Regions from separate parts of the Homo sapiens genome. Here region 2 is linked to region 1. The links are contacts of gene promoters, found by promoter capture Hi-C in blood cells and fetal thymus (Javierre and others, 2016). All regions are on one chromosome and are shown on one strand. Each heading gives the region's core, a stretch centred on a gene start or on the middle of the fragment in contact. The rest is flanking DNA. Distances are from core to core; before and after follow the strand shown. Region 1 holds the start of RASGEF1C (RasGEF domain family member 1C). Region 2 holds the start of TBC1D9B (TBC1 domain family member 9B).

What was found. The method cuts DNA at HindIII sites, captures the fragments that hold promoters and counts their contacts. A CHiCAGO score of 5 or more calls a contact.
Region 2: a contact is called between the fragment with the promoter of TBC1D9B here and the fragment with the promoter of RASGEF1C in region 1, in 4 of 17 cell types (megakaryocytes, M1 macrophages, M0 macrophages and 1 more). The highest score is 6.7, in megakaryocytes.

What each region holds. Positions count from the first base shown.
Region 1 is chr5:180,206,696-180,214,249 of GRCh38, reverse strand. RASGEF1C (RasGEF domain family member 1C) reads left to right here and starts at 5,039. Exons shown (of 14, transcript NM_175062.4): 1 at 5,039-5,222. RefSeq lists a silencer at 4,904-5,123 and an enhancer at 6,248-7,040. The HindIII fragment of the contact is 1,452 bases long and covers 4,057-5,508 here.
Region 2 is chr5:179,903,493-179,911,046 of GRCh38, reverse strand. TBC1D9B (TBC1 domain family member 9B) reads left to right here and starts at 3,150. Exons shown (of 21, transcript NM_015043.4): 1 at 3,150-3,343; 2 at 6,235-6,345. The coding sequence starts at 3,226. RefSeq lists silencers at 2,999-3,158, 3,229-3,288, 3,299-3,438, 3,489-3,538 and an enhancer at 3,419-4,196. The HindIII fragment of the contact is 10,003 bases long and covers 1,421-7,554 here.

The DNA.
Region 1 (7,554 bases), core at 3,790-6,289:
GGATCAGACCCACACTTACCCTCCACACACGTGCATACGACACGTGCATACAACACACACATGCACACAGCACACCATATGCACACAGCACCACATATATGCACACAGCACACACACACATGCACAAACCGCCCACACATGAATACAGCACACACATGCATATAGCACACACATGCACAGCACACCACATGCATACGCTACACACACATGCACACAACACACACATGCACACAGCACATGCATGCACACAGCATAAAACATACACCACACACATGCACACAGCACACAGGCACACAGCATAAAACATACACCACACACATGCATACACCACACACATGCACACAGCACATAGGCACACAGTACCACACATACAGCACACCCACATGCACACAGCACACACATGCACAGCACCACACACATGCATAGAGCACAAGAATGCACATGGCACCACACACATAGGCAGAGCACACATGCACACAACACATACATACACCACGCACATGCACACAACATACATACATGCACGCAGCACCAACATGCACACAGCACACACACATGTGCATAGCAGACAACACACACATGCATATACCACACACTCATGCACACAGCATCACATATATACACACACGTGCACAAAACAGCGCTACATACACAAGCATACAACACACACACATTACACACATGTGCTGCATACACATGCATAGAACACACCACACATTCACACAAGTGCACATACACATACTGCATATACCATGCATGCACACATGTGCAAATCCATATACACACACACACCCTCTCTCTTGCTCCTCCCAGCCCAGGCTCAGTGGGTTGGCAGCCCTGGACTGTAAAGGATCATTAAATGTGGCCCCCTCCCGTGGCTGACTATAGGATGACTTCTCCTGGAGCTCTGCCCTTGCAGTAACTTTGGAGGGTTTTCACCAGACCAAGAATGGACGAGTTACGGGTCGGCTAATAAAATGCTTTGGCCAGAGCCCAAAGTTCTGTCCTCAGTGTTTCCTGATTTTATTGGTGAACTTGCTCAGCAGCCTTGCCCGGTGCCCCTTCCCTGAGTCACGTGCTGTGGCTGTGCCAAGCATCCCGGGCAGACGTACTGCAGGGCCTCACAGGCTCCTGCTCTGCGTAAGCGCCTGCAGCTGCTGGAGCCCGTGCTGTCCTTCCTTCCTCCCTGAGGACCCGCACCAGGCAGGCACCCGCAGGCCCCGCTGCCTCCAGACCTCCTCCACATGCCCCTGGCCCCACAGTCCCAGCAGGTGCTGTCTGCTGTGAAGGGGCTCCTCGCCCTCCTGGGAAAGGTACCCCATTCATCCTGCCAGGACCCCTGCCATCGCTGTCACTTCTCACACATTCTCCTATCTCCCATCATCCAGTCCTGTGGCTTCTCCCCCAGAAACAGCCCTCAGGTCTGCCCCATTCCCTGCCCCCTGCCCAGGTCTGTACTCATCAGCTCTCCCCTGCCTGCCAACTCCTCGTGGGCCTGCTGCCTGTCCCTCGTGGCCACACCCAGTGAACAAGGACTCCAGCCCCACTAACCCAGTGCTGCGTTGGTGGGGCACACTCAGGTCTCCCAGAGTCACACGTGTGCAGGATGTGCCATCCAGGCCAGGGGCAGCTACGCAGGGGCTGAAGGTGCTGGGAAAGGCCTCATGGGTGTCAGGACCCCTACATCTGGGGACAGCACCACCCCCTCCTGCTGGGGGTGCTGCTGGCAGAGCTGCAGCCACACCTGCCCCTGTGTCGACACCCAGAGGACAGGATCCAGCTCCTTGCCCACCTGGACACCCTGCCTGGCCCTGTTCCCTTCCACCTTGGCTCCAGCCTCTTTTTTGCAAAAACAATGCAAAGTCCATGCCAGCCACAGGGCCTCGCCCTTGCTATTCTCTCTGCCCACGGTGCTTTTCCCAGACCCTGTATGGCCAGTGCCTTGTCTGATGTGCCTGGAGAGGCCCTTCCTGGGCCCTCCCTTCTAAAGCAGCCCCACCGCACTCAACCACCTCCCCAGTATGGCTTCCTTCATGGCGCTCGGCGCTCTCCGAAATGATTGTTTTTACTCTTTTGTTTGTATGGTTAGTTTTCAGCCTCCCTTCTCTAAACCATGAGTTCCAGGGGGCAGGAACCCCATGTCGGGCTCTCTGCTATATTCCCAGCACCCAGCATGGTGCCCGGCACACATAGGCCCTAGGTAAGTGTCCACCCAATAGATGTCTCAGGGCAGTGGTGGGGTGAGGGGAGACTGAGTTGACGGCCCTAGGGATGGCTCACCCTCTGTCCCAATGCCCTCACTCAGGGATTAGCCCCGGGGCACGTTCTGGAGTGAGAAGTTGGGTGGGCAGGGTAGGGGCTGGGCAGGAGAGGTTCCTTGCTAGAGGGCACTCCTGGGTGGGCTATGAGGGGGCGGGAGCAGATACCTCCCAGGGCCCAGTGGTGGCACCTGCAGCCAGGGTCCCACAAAGCTGGAGGCTCAGGGCAGAACTCCACGCTGGCCGCGAGGCTCAAAAACCTTCCTGGTGTTGCATGAGCCGCGACTGCAGCTCATGCGTCTTCCTCAGCACAGGCCCAACTCTCGGCAGCGATGGGTCTGGCAGGGAGAGGACGCAGGAGACCTCAGGGGACACGGTCTTCTCCTTTGTCCCAGAGCAAAGCTCTGCCACCCTCACCCCTGTGGGACACGGAGCTGTGGCCATGAGCTAGTCCACACCCATGTTCCAGTTGCCCTGGCCTCATCCAAGCATCCCCTACCCTGCTCCCAGCAGGGCAATCATGCTTCAGTGGCCCCAGCCACTTGCTGGAGAAAGTTCTTTATCAGGGGACAGCAGCCTTTGCTCACAGAGCAAGGGTGAGCTGGGGAAAGACTGGCCTCACCACCCTGACCTGCACTTGGTTAGGAGGGCCGCTCAGTGCTGCCCAGACCCCAGAACAACACAGCTGAGTGGGTCAGCTCTTCTGAGGTGCCTCTTGCGGCCTCTCCTCCTAGACTCCTGGCTTCCTCCAGGCGACACCCTGGGACTGGACCTGAGGCTTAGGGGCATAGGGTGATAATCGGAGAAGATGCAGGGAGGGCCCAGTGCCTGCACCCTGAGGCGCATCTGTCTATCTGCTGGGAGCACACTGCTCACCCCTGACCAAGTGCCTGCCTCTGTTCCTCCTCCCTTTCCCCACACCTGACCCTTGGTCTCAGATGTCACCCTCCCTAGGGCCAGCCTCTGGCCCTGGCCCTGGCCCCAGCCCTGCTGTCTCCCTGCCTAGCTACCTGGCCCACATTCATTCTAATACATCTGTATGCCCTAGGCAGCTGCCTGCTCTCTCCAGGACTCAGTTTCCCTAACTGTTCAAGAAATGGGCTGGACTGTTGTTCTTAACCTGTCCATTCTTCCAGGAACAGCCTTCACGGAAGCTTGGAACAGCACCTTACTCCATCCTCAAAGCTGACACAGGACTAACTCTGCCTCAGCTCTAGTGAGACGACACCCAGGCCTGCTATTCCTGCTCCCTAGGTCTTTGGAAATGGCCTGAGCTCAGCTCCTCGGAGCCTGTGTGTGGCAGCCGCAGGCTGTCCTTGCAACTATCAGGCAGCTGTGCCCTCTCTGAGGTGTCAACCCAGGGCCATTCTGCCACAGAAAGACTGGGAGATAGGGGAGGCCAGTTTCTATGCACATAGGTTAAGTACCTGGATCTAGCCATTCCTCTAAGCAGTAAACCTTGGCTTTTTATGATCCACAAACCAGCTTTTTGCTCAAGCTGGTTGGGTTGAGTTTTGGGCCACATCTCATCAGGCAGGTCCTGACTAAAGCAGAGTGAGGTGAAGGCAGCTGGAACTTCCGTGTCGGGTGGGGACTTGGAGAACTTTTCTGGCTAGCTAGAGGATTGTAAATGCACCAATCAGCACTCTGTAAAAACGCACCAATCAGCACTCCGTGAAACGGACCAATCAGCAGGACATGGGTGGGGACAAATAAGGGAATAAAAGCTGCCCGCCCACCCCTCGCCAGCCAGCAACAGCGGCGACCGGCTGTGGTCTTTTTCCCTGCTGTGGAAGCTTTGTTCTCTTGCTCTTCACAAGACATTTTGCTGCTACGCACTCTTTGGGTCTGCACCACCTTTTTCTTTTCTTTTCTTTTTTTTTTTTTTTGAGATGGAGTCTTGCTCTGTCGCCCAGGCTACAGTGCAGTGGTGCAATCTCTGCTCACTGCAAGCTCCACCTCCCCGGGTTCACGCCCTTCTCCTGCCTCAGCCTCCCGAATAGCTGGGACCACAAGCGCCCACCACCAAACCTGGCTAATTTTTTTGTATTTTTAGTACAGACAGGGTTTCACCGTCGCACCACCTTTAAGAGCTGTAACACTCACTGCCAAGGTCCCTGGCTCATTCTTGAAGTCAGCCAGACCAGGAACCCAGCGGAAGGGACAAACTGCGGACACAGGAGGACAGGTGTCCTGACCTCTATGCTGGGACCAACCAGGGAACTTTTCACTGAAGACCCAGTTCAAGGAGGCCACTGGATCCTGTTAGAGCCCCTCTCCCTTTCTAAAAGTGAAATCATGCATCGCCATCCTCCCAGAACCCCGGTGTCTTCAAAGTGGTGTCCACCCTCCCTGGGGGCCACGGGAGAGCGCCGAGAAGGTTGGGGAGGGGGGGTGTCCACCCAGGGATGTCCCATTGGGGGACACAGACAACCTAGGTGGCCAGTCCAGAGAACCGGGCCGGGCCCAGTCTTGAGGAGAGAGGGTGAACTGGGTTTTGGGGCGCCAGAGGCCCACCAGGTGAGGTGTAGGCTGGGGCAGCTGGGGCGCAGAGTCCGCCAGGGTCCGCGCGCGGGAGGGCAGCGTCTGACGGCCCGAGCGGGTGGTCCTGGCGCGGGGGGCCAGCCGCCGCGGAGGCCTGAACGCAGGGCGGGACGCTTGGCTCCGCGGCCGGGGCACGGAGGGCCCTGGTGTGCAGCGCCGCCCGCGGGCTCCCGCAGCTCCACCCCCGCGCCCCGCCCGCTCCGCGCTGCCTGAGTGCCACGAGGGGGCGCAGCGCCGCGTTGCTCCGGGGCCGCCGCCAGGCGCTCGTGCGGGCTGCGCTGGGAGCCGGGCGGTCGGGCGGCGGCGGCGGCGGCGGCGGCGGCGGCGGCGGCGGCGGGCGGCGCCCCGGTCCGCGGCGCCGAGGCTCGCACCGGGAGCTGCCCATGGGCCGGGCCCGGAGTTCCGGCGCGCCGGGAGCCGGTGAGTGGTGCGCGGCCGAGGGACACCTGGCGGTGCGGGCAAGGGCGCGGGCTCGCGGGGGCTGGGGAGGGCTGCCGGCGGCGCGGCGGGGTCGGCGGGAGGCGGGAGGCTGCGCGCGGCGCGGGAGCGTGCGCCGGGGTCAGCAGGGGCGGGGTCCGCGCGGCCGCCGGGACTGGAGGCGCGGGGGTAGCGGGTAGGGTACCCTGAGGGCACACCCCCGGCCACCTGGCGGGAGACCCAGCTCTGCCGCGCGCCGCCAGCCCCTGCTGGGCGCGAGGAGCAAGCTTCTTTCAGCCGCTAGAGTGGCAGGAAGAGCCAGCCTAGACCAAAGCCTCCACCCGCACCGGACCTCAGTTTCCCCGTCTATGAAATGGGGACGGGAAAGCAGACCTGCCGGTGCACGTGCAGAAGGGAAAGGGCCTTGCGCCTGGGGGAAGAGGGTGCTGTCACCCTTGAGGATGGGATCGGATTTGAGGAAAGGACCAGCGCCACTATCAGAGGGCCTGCGAGAACAGTGGGGTCTGCTGGGAGTCCTGGGTGTGTCCCTCACGCAGTGACAGCGGACGGCATCAAGGGACCACCTGGTCCACTCATTGTATTTAGATTGGGAAAGCGATGCTTGGGGGGACTTGGGGAAGGGTGCTGGCGACGCCGCCCCATGCTCAGCGTGGGCGTGGGAAACTGTGGGAAAGACAGAGCTGGGAAGTTGGGGTGCTGGTGGAGCTCTTCCGGGCCCGTATCTCCTGCCTCCTGGGGCTGTGGGAGAGACAGAAGTTCTGAGCCCCGGGAGCCTGAGAAGAGTCCTGGGAAGCTCTGCCTGCCAGGCAGGTGGAGTAACTGAGGTTTAGAGAGGGGCGGGACCATGGAGTGGCAACGCTGGGGTCCCACCTCTGGTAAGACTGGCTCCAACAGCCATAGTGCAGCCACTGTGCAGGCGACCGGTGGAGGGGGGCTAGGGTTGTCCACTCACTGGCCACATTCATTGAGCGCCTACTGTGTGCCGCCTGCTGCCTGCCCCCGTAAGTGCTCACTAGCTGGTGTGGGAGGGGACACCAAACAAGAAATCAAAGGCAAAAGCAAGGACATGGCCAAGATCTTATGCGTGCTGGGAAGAACATGCAGTAGGGTGACTGGGGCAGAGGGAGACCAGGGCGCGGCGGAGCCTTCGTCTGGTCAGGGAGGCTGTCCTGAGCGGGGAGCCCAGCCTGTGATGGACGGGTAGCCCGGGGGAACAGCGCGGGTGAGATCCCTGAGGGCAGGAGGGGGCGGAGCTGGAGCTGAGACGCTACAGGGTCTGGACGTCCTGGGCAGCCCCCAGGCGGTTTGCAGGTTGGGCGTCGAAAGGCTGCCCGTGGCGGCGGGTGGGCGCACTGCCGGGGCAGGAGAGGGAGGGCAGGCGAGAGAGGGACGGGCTGCGGAGCCCAGGGCGGGACTGGCGAGGGGGAGCCCGCAGGCCACCAGGTAGAGGTGGGGCCCTGCCCGGGACCTGGCCCTTTTCAGGCCGGGGTCTGCACCCTCCTGCCATGTCCCCGCCAGTCTCTGAGGTGGTTCCAGCTCTCACTTGTACCTGGACCCAGATCCAGAGTCAGCCATTTGTCCAAGGGGCCTTGGTTCCTTGCGTGGGACCCGGGCTTAGTGTGGGGCGTGCACTCGCCGCCTCTAGGCCTTGTCAGTGGACCAAGCCAAGGCCCCTTTTTTACTAAAAATTAATATTTCCTTTCCCTTTCTCCTGCAGTGAGAACCTTATTCCCCCAAACATGAATATATTTCATCATTTACTTAGCTCCACAATGCACCCCGAAAGAGTTTCAGAATGACTGCATCCACACCGAAGCCAACCAAAACCTGCTAGGTCAGCATCGGGATTTCCACGGGTGTGCAGGCAGAGTGCTGTGTGGTGACGTTATCAGTCGGACACACTGTTAGCTTCGTGTGTTTCTACTTGCATTCAATTTGGAGCTTTTTTTCCTTTAGACTTTAGGATGTAATTTTATTTTTTGAATACGTAAAACACATGGTTTAAAGGTCAGAACTATTAAAAAGCTATCCTTAAAGGTCTCAGTCCCACCCCTGCATCTTCTTCCTTGTTCCCACACCATTGGGAGCCATTTAAAATATTTTCTGGTTTATCCTTCCTGTGTCTCTTTCTGCAAAACAAGTCATTTAAGCATTATCACAAAAGTTAGCCGTACAGCTCCTGGTTTTTCTTCAGTTAGAAGTATGTCCTGAAAGTAACTTCTTACCAGTTCATGGAGACCTGGCTCATTCTTTTTTACACTCACATAGTATTTCGTTCTGTGGCTGTACTATTATTGTTTATTCAAATTATGTC
Region 2 (7,554 bases), core at 1,901-4,400, 300 kb after region 1:
AGCACTTTGGGAGGCCGAGGCGGGCAGATCACTTGAGGTCAGGATTTCGAGACCATCCTGGCTAACATGGTGAAACCTCCTCTCTACTAAAAATACTAAAATTAGCCAGGCATGGTGGCACGCACCTGTACTCCCAGCTACTTGGGAGGCTGAGGCAGGAGAATCGCTTGAACTTGGGAGGCAGAGGCTGCAGTGAGCCAGGATCATGCCACTGCACTCCAGCCTGGGCGACAGAGTGAGACTCCGTCTCAAAAATAAAAAAATAAAAAAATTTTTTAAATGGGCAAAGGACATTTCTCCAAATAGACATTTCTCCAGATAAAATATACAAATAACCCAAAAGCCCATCATCAGTCATCAGGGAAATGGAAATCCAAACCACAGCGAGATACCATTTCCCACCCTCTAGAAATGAGCATCAAAAAAAAAGAAAGACAATAACAAGTGTTGACAAGATATGGAAAAACTAGAACTCTTTTTTTTTTTTTTTTTTTTGAGACGGAGTCTCACTCTGCTGCCCAGGCTGAAGTTGCAGTGGCGTGATCTCGGCTCACTGCAACCTCCACCTCCCGGGTTCAAGCAATTCTCCTGCCTCAGCCTCCCGAGTAGCTGGGACAAGCATATGCCACCACGTCCGGCTAATTTTTGTATTTTTAGTAGAGACGGGGTTTCACCGTGTTAGCCAGGATGGTCTTGATCTCCTAACCTTGTGATCTGCCCACCTCGGCCTCCCAAAGTGCTGGGGTTACAGGCGTGAGCCGCCGCGCCCTGCCTAGAACTCTTACACCCAGCTGGTGGGCATGTGGAATGCTACAGCTGCTTTGGAGCGCAGTGTGGTCACTGCTTAAAAAGTTAAACATAGCTGTACCACATGACCCAACAATACCACTCCTCAATATATGCCCAAGAGAATTAAAAACACATATTCACACAAAGACTTGTACACATGTTCATGGCAGCATTATTTATAATAGACGAGGGGTAAACAATCCAAATGTCCATCCAAATGAATAAAATGCGGTGCATCCATACCGTGGGGTACTATTCAGCCATAAGGAGGAATGAAGCATCAATACGTGCTACAACGTGGGTGAACCTCGAACACATGATGGGAAGTGAAAGAAGACAGACACAAAAGACCACATATTGTAAGGTTCCATTTATATGAAGAAATGGCTAGAATGGGAAAAATGTATAGAGACAAAATAGATTGATGGTTGCCAGGGCAAAGCCGGGGGGAAGTGGGGAATGGCAGCTAATGGGTAAGGGGTTTCTTTTGACTTGATAAAAATGTTCTGGAATTAGTGATGATGGATGCCCAGCCTAGTGAATATACTAAAAACCACTACGTTTTGCACTTTAAAAGAGTGAACGTTACGGAATGTGACTTATATCTCAGAAAATCAAAAAGAAGTAAGCTTAGCACGCACATACTAAGTGATCGATAAATGTTTGTTCTTTTTCTTCTTATAAAAAACCATTCTCGAGGAGTGGTCTCCAGGTCAGCAGCATCAACATCACCTAGGAACGAGTTAGCAGTGCAAACACCCTGGGAGGGAGGGGGCAGCAACCTGTGTGGCTGTTTTTTGTTTTGTTTTGTTTTCAGATGGAGTCTTGCTATATTGCCCTGGCCGATTTTGAACTCCTGGCCTCAAGTGATCCTACCACCTCAGCCTCCCAAGTGGCTGGGACTACAGCAGCCTGTTTGAATCAGCCTTCCAGGTGATCCTAATGTATACCCAATTTGAGAACCACTGGGATTAAGGAACAAGACGACTCTTTACCTCCTCTCAGGGTGTTAAAAAGTGCAGTTCTTCCAAATTCTTTCCCTCTAGAGAGCACAATGACAATATTAGTTCAGACTTCCAAGGTGTTGAAGAAAGCCCGCCTCTGCATCTTGAAAGCTGATTCCTATATCCAGCAACATTGAAGAAGACTGCAGATCACTCTGGGTGTCAACTGCATGTACCTACATCCATCGCACCAAGATTCTTGAGTGCCAATCACAGAAACCCACCTGGAAGTCAGGTCCAGCTCCAAGGATGGTTTAACTGCCCCCTTCCCTTTGCCCTCTAGCCAGACCCTGGTGAGGGTTCCAGCCAGCAGGGTGACCCCACATCCCAGTCGACCCCGGACAGGCCCCAGGCCCGTTGTCCCAGGTGGAGTTGACAGCCCCCTCATGCAGAAGGCTGTGTGTGGACTGGCGCTGCCCCTGCAGGCCAACACTGGGAGACCAGGGACCCGCATTCGCCTGCAGCCAGCCTCACACTTGCGCAGAAGCCGCCACTGGGCCCAGGGCCAGTCCAGACCCCATCCCCAGGGCCGGCCAGCCTCTGTGACCCGTCTGTCAGGGGAGGGGCAGCACTGATTTCCAAGGATGCAGCCCGTATCAGGGCCTCCTGGCACCTGCCCTGCGCTGGAAGATTCTTCTAGTCTCCCGGCCCCAGTGTCAGAATTCTGAGAACTGGCCGGGCGCGATGGTTCACTCCTGTAATCCCAGGACTTGGGAGGCCAATGTAGGCGGATCACCCGAGGTCAGGAGTTCGAGACCAGCCTGGCCAACATGGTGAAACCCCGTCTCTACTAAAAATACAAAAAAATTAGCCGGGCGTGTTGGCGGGAGCCTGTAATCCCAGCTAAAGAGGCTGGGGCAGGAGAATCACTTGAACCCGGGAGGCAGAGGTTGCAGTGAGCTGAGATTGCGCCACTGCACTCCAGCCTGGGCGACACAGCAAGACTCTGTCGAAAAAAAAAAAAGAAAAGAAAGCTGAGAATTAGGAGGAACTGCAAACCCTTTCCAGGCGCCCTTTGCAGTGCTAACACGCCCCGGGTTGCACGCGCAACCAGCCAAAAGCCGCCAAACTCTGCTTCTTGACATCCTTCTCTCACACTGCACAGCTTTCAAAACGCCAGAAGCCCTGCTCTGCACAGCGGCTCCCCTGTCTGCGGACTGGGCCGTTCCGTTCTGGACCCAGGCCGGAGGCCGTGGGCTGCACCGCTCCAGGAGGCCAGGCTGGCGCGCGCCCGAGGCCGGGGCTGAGGGGGCGGCGCGGAACTCGGGCCGCGTGCGGGAGCGCCACACGCCCGCCAGGGGGCGCCGCCCGCCCGGCCCCGCCCCGCCCCGGCCCGCTCCGCACGCTCCGCTCCGCACGCTCCGCTCCGGGACGCCGACGGCGGCGGGCGCTTCCGTCTCGCGGGCCTCGGCCCGGTGCGAGCGGCTCCGCGATGTGGCTGAGCCCGGAGGAGGTGCTGGTGGCCAATGCGCTGTGGGTGACGGAGCGGGCCAACCCCTTCTTCGTGCTGCAGCGACGCCGGGGCCACGGCAGGGGCGGCGGCCTTACGGGTGAGAGGCGCGCGGGCGGCCGGGCCTGTGGGCGCCGCGGCTGGGCTGGCGGCGGGGCTGGCGGCGGGCGGCGGGCGGGTCCGGTTCCGGCCCGGCCTCGGCGCGTCGCGGCGGACACGCACGCCAGCGCGCGGCGGGGCGGGGGCGCGAGGCCAGGACCCGGGAGCCGGGCGCGGAGGGGCCGGGGCGGGGAGGCGAGGGGCTGGCGGGAGGCGAATGCGCCCTCGGCGGGCTCTCCTCAGGTCGGCTTGGGGCGGCCAAGTGGAGACCGGCGGCGGCTTCTGCCCGGATTCGGCGCCCGCGAGCCCCGGGGGCCGTGCAGCTTCCCGGGATCTCACCGCCGAAAGTTGGCGAGACCGCCCTGTCCTCATCCTCCACCTCAGTTTCCCCAGGTGCCTCTAAGGGGCCAGGTGACGCCAGCGCACGTTTTCTTTTGCCCTCTTCTTCGTGCCCATCTCACCAAAGTATCGCCCTTTTAGCAAGATCAGAGGTCCCTGGAGCTGGCCGCACCCCCATTCCCCCAGCTTCTCCTCCCCCACCTTTCCTGCTCCTGGCTGCTCTCAGAGCTGCGCACCCAAGGCTGTGGGTAGCGGCACAGGGTGTTCCTGCAAGCTCGCCAAGGTGGCCCTTTGTGGGCCCGGGTGCCACCATCACACAGGATGAAGCTGGACAGGCACCCTTGGAGTCGTGCGGCCTGTGGGATCCAGGGGAGGCCCACAGGCCACTCCCTCCGCAGGTGGTGTCCGGGGCCCCTCATGCTCCAGGGCCTGCGCCCAGCACTGCAGGAGCCCGGCTGGCTCGGGCTCAGTGCCTGTGCTCTTCGGGGCACCGACTGTTGCCCTACAGGATTGCGGTCCCAGTGTTGCCAGGTCGTCCAGTTTATCAAGAGCATTTTCTGTGAATCATCCTGATTTTCAGTGTGAGCAGCTAATAGCCAGATGCAGACGGAGGCTTCTCCTGGGCCACGTTTCTTCATGTGGAAGAGACTGTTCTGTTCCCAGAAACACTCAGTGTTCCCTTCAGCTTCGGGTTCCCTCCCAGTGGGCTTCAAGGATCTCGGGCTCCTGTTCTGGACCCGCCTCCTAGATCCAGCTGTTCAGTCGGCAGCCCCTGTGGCTAACCTCGAAGCTACTGCAAGCCCGATGAAGAAAGCGAGGGACCGGCACCTTTTCTTCCGCCAGCGCGCCAGGGTGTCATCAGCGCGCCAGTGTGTCATATTCGCTGGTGTACTTGAAACACTTGTGCTGTGCTCGGCAGGCTTATGTGGGTCGTCTCATTGAACGGGCGGGTGCAGGTGCAGCCCGGTCTCTGTACACCTCCTTCCTGCGGGCTCTTCTCCTTTCCACCTCACTCTCCGTGTCCCCTGGGACCGAGCTCCCAGGGTCCCCCCAAGGGAACCCTTCTTTGAACCCTCTCCCAATCTCTCCCCACTGCTAGGTTTGGTGTGTCCTGCTGTGCCCTCTGACAGGGCCTTCCCTGTGCCATCATGGGCATCGTGGCCTCCTGAGTACTGTCCTCCCTGAAGAGGAGCAGACAGGGATGTGGTTTTATCCAAGCCATCTATTAAAAACATGCCAACCTAGACTTTTCATTAAAGAATCTGAATAGCTAGCTTGGCCAACATGGCAAAACCCCGTCTCTACTAAAAATATAAAATTTATCCAGGCATGGTGGCACGCGCCTGTTATCCCAGCTACTCGGGAGGCTGAGGCACGAGAATCGCTTGAACCCAGGAGGTCAAGGTTGCAGTGAGCCGAGATGGCGCCATTGCACTCCACCTTGGGCGACAGAGCGAGACTATCTCAAAAAAGTATTAATGGACTATGAAACAAAAGTGTTAAAGTTGAATAACAGCAATAAAAATTGTTCTGACATCAACAGGAAAAATGGTAACAAAATATTTTCAGATCATGCCAAAAGCAGCACTTCGTTAAAAGGAAGAAAAAATTTCAAGTAAAAACAATAAACAGGTTTTTAGATTGCTCGATAATTCAATTAGTGAATCAAACAATGATAAAAGCTATATATTTCCTGCTGATTTGTCAGGAAATAGTGACACTGACAAAGATAGCATTACCTAAAATATAAAAGCAAAGATAGCGTTGCCACAGACTGCTTAATGTGTGTCATCTATCAAAGGGGTATATGTGATGAGAAGAAAAACTTGAAATGCCCTCAAATGTTTCAGTTCAGAAATGAAAAAACTTTATATTTTCCCAAATTTGACAATTCTAAAGATCGACTTCTTCAGTTATGATTTTTTGAGGCTAAAAGAAACTTCCTTAAACTGTCGGTAATAAAAAATCAGTGAGTCATGGCAAAGGGGAGACATTATCTTTCTGTTCTTGATATGGAAAATAATGTTGCAGAATCATTGTCCTGTGTGTGAAGAAGCGATGAGTACAGGACCAGAACTGTCCGGAAGACGTATTTCAGGAGACGCACATGGCAGTTAGGAAAACATTGTGTTGGTTTTCTGGATTTTGTGATATTTCTGATATTGTTCTTTTTTAACTTTAACGTGTAGCTCTGTACTTTCTCGGTCTAAAGCAATACTTGTTTTGTAGTCTAGTTTTGTATACGTAAAGAGGGCTTCCCAGAATTGTTTAAGCTCTGGCCCCATGAAACTTGTATCTGCCTCTGCCTGCAAGTGTTTCTGAGCCAGGAGAAGAAGCAGATGCTTCCAGGAAGAAGTAGAAGGGGATGTTTTTGATCGGGATCAGACACTGGCTGAAGGCCTTTGACCGCAGGGGTCATTCCGGACGTTTCCCTCGTTGGGCTGGACCCTTTGGGTAGCGTCACCATCCTGTCTGCCTCCGGCCAGACTCAGCCTTCAGGGGCCTCAGTCCGGCCCTCCCCTCACCCTCTATGTCTCTCTGCCCTGTTCCCAGGTCTTCTCGTGGGCACCCTGGACGTGGTGCTGGACTCCAGTGCCCGCGTGGCCCCTTACCGCATCCTGCACCAGACCCAGGACTCCCAGGTCTACTGGACAGTGGCGTGTGGTAGGTGCCCTGAGTGGTGAGGGGTGCTGGGCAGGGCCTGCCCTGGAAGGGCCGTTGCCGAGAGGAAGGGGTGTGTAGCCCACGTGTCTGGGTGGTATTCCCTGCTGACAGCATAGCCCAAGGCTGCAAGAGGGAAGTGGAGGAGCCTTCGCTTCCATCTTAGAAAGGCAGCTCCGTGGCCCGGTGCGGTGGCTCACGTCTGTAATCCCAGCACTTTGGGAGGCCGAGGCGGGCTGATCACGAGGTCAGGAGATCGAGACCATCCTGGCTAACACGGTGAAACCACGTCTCTACTAAAAAACACAAAAAATTAGCTGGGGGTGGTGGCGGAGGCCTGTAGTCCCAGCTACTCGGGAGGCTGAGGCAGGAGAATGGCGTGAACCCGGGAGGCGGAGCTTGCAGTGAGCCGAGATCGCGCCACTGCACTCCAGCCTGGGCGACACAGCGAGATTCCGTCTCAAAAAAAAAAAAAAAAAAAAAAGGCAGCTCCACTGGTCATGGGGACAGGGCAGGAGAGGACAGCCCCATGGATCCCCATGTACCTCTAGGGACGCAGGTGTGGGGCTAGCCAATGTCCACATTCTCATGCCACCTTTTCTCAAGGTAGACGTAGTCGGCCTCATTCAAAGATTCCATATTTGCAAATTGGCCTACTCAATAAAATGTATTTGCAATCCCCAAATCAATACTTCCAGCGATTTTGTGGTCATTTGGAGACACTCATGGACACATGCACGTTCAAAGCAGTGAAAAATTTGACTCGCCTGATGCCCATGTCCCCAGCTGAGGCAGAACAGGACGACGCTCTGCCTTCTTGATTCAGCTCTCATACTGCACTCACGTGTCCTGTTCACAGTCTCTGCAGTGCCATGTTTTTCCCATGTTTGTGCTCGTTGCTGATGACTTGGCTGTTTAAAATGGCTCCCAAGCATAGCGCTCTTGTTCCTAAGAGCAAGAAGGCTGAGTTGTGCCTTGTGAAGGAGATCTGTGCATGAGAGCAGCTTCATTCAGGCGTGAGTGATAGTGCTGCTGGCCGTGAGCTCAATGCCAATCGATCAGGAATACGTATTAAATAAGGCATCTTTAAACAGAAACACATGTAAAACAGTTATGTATCGGTCAGTCGACAGAAGTGTGATTAGAGGCTCCAGGAACCTAACCCTGTGTTCCCCCGGGGTACTGGTTCAGGATTCGCTAACTCAGTGTTCG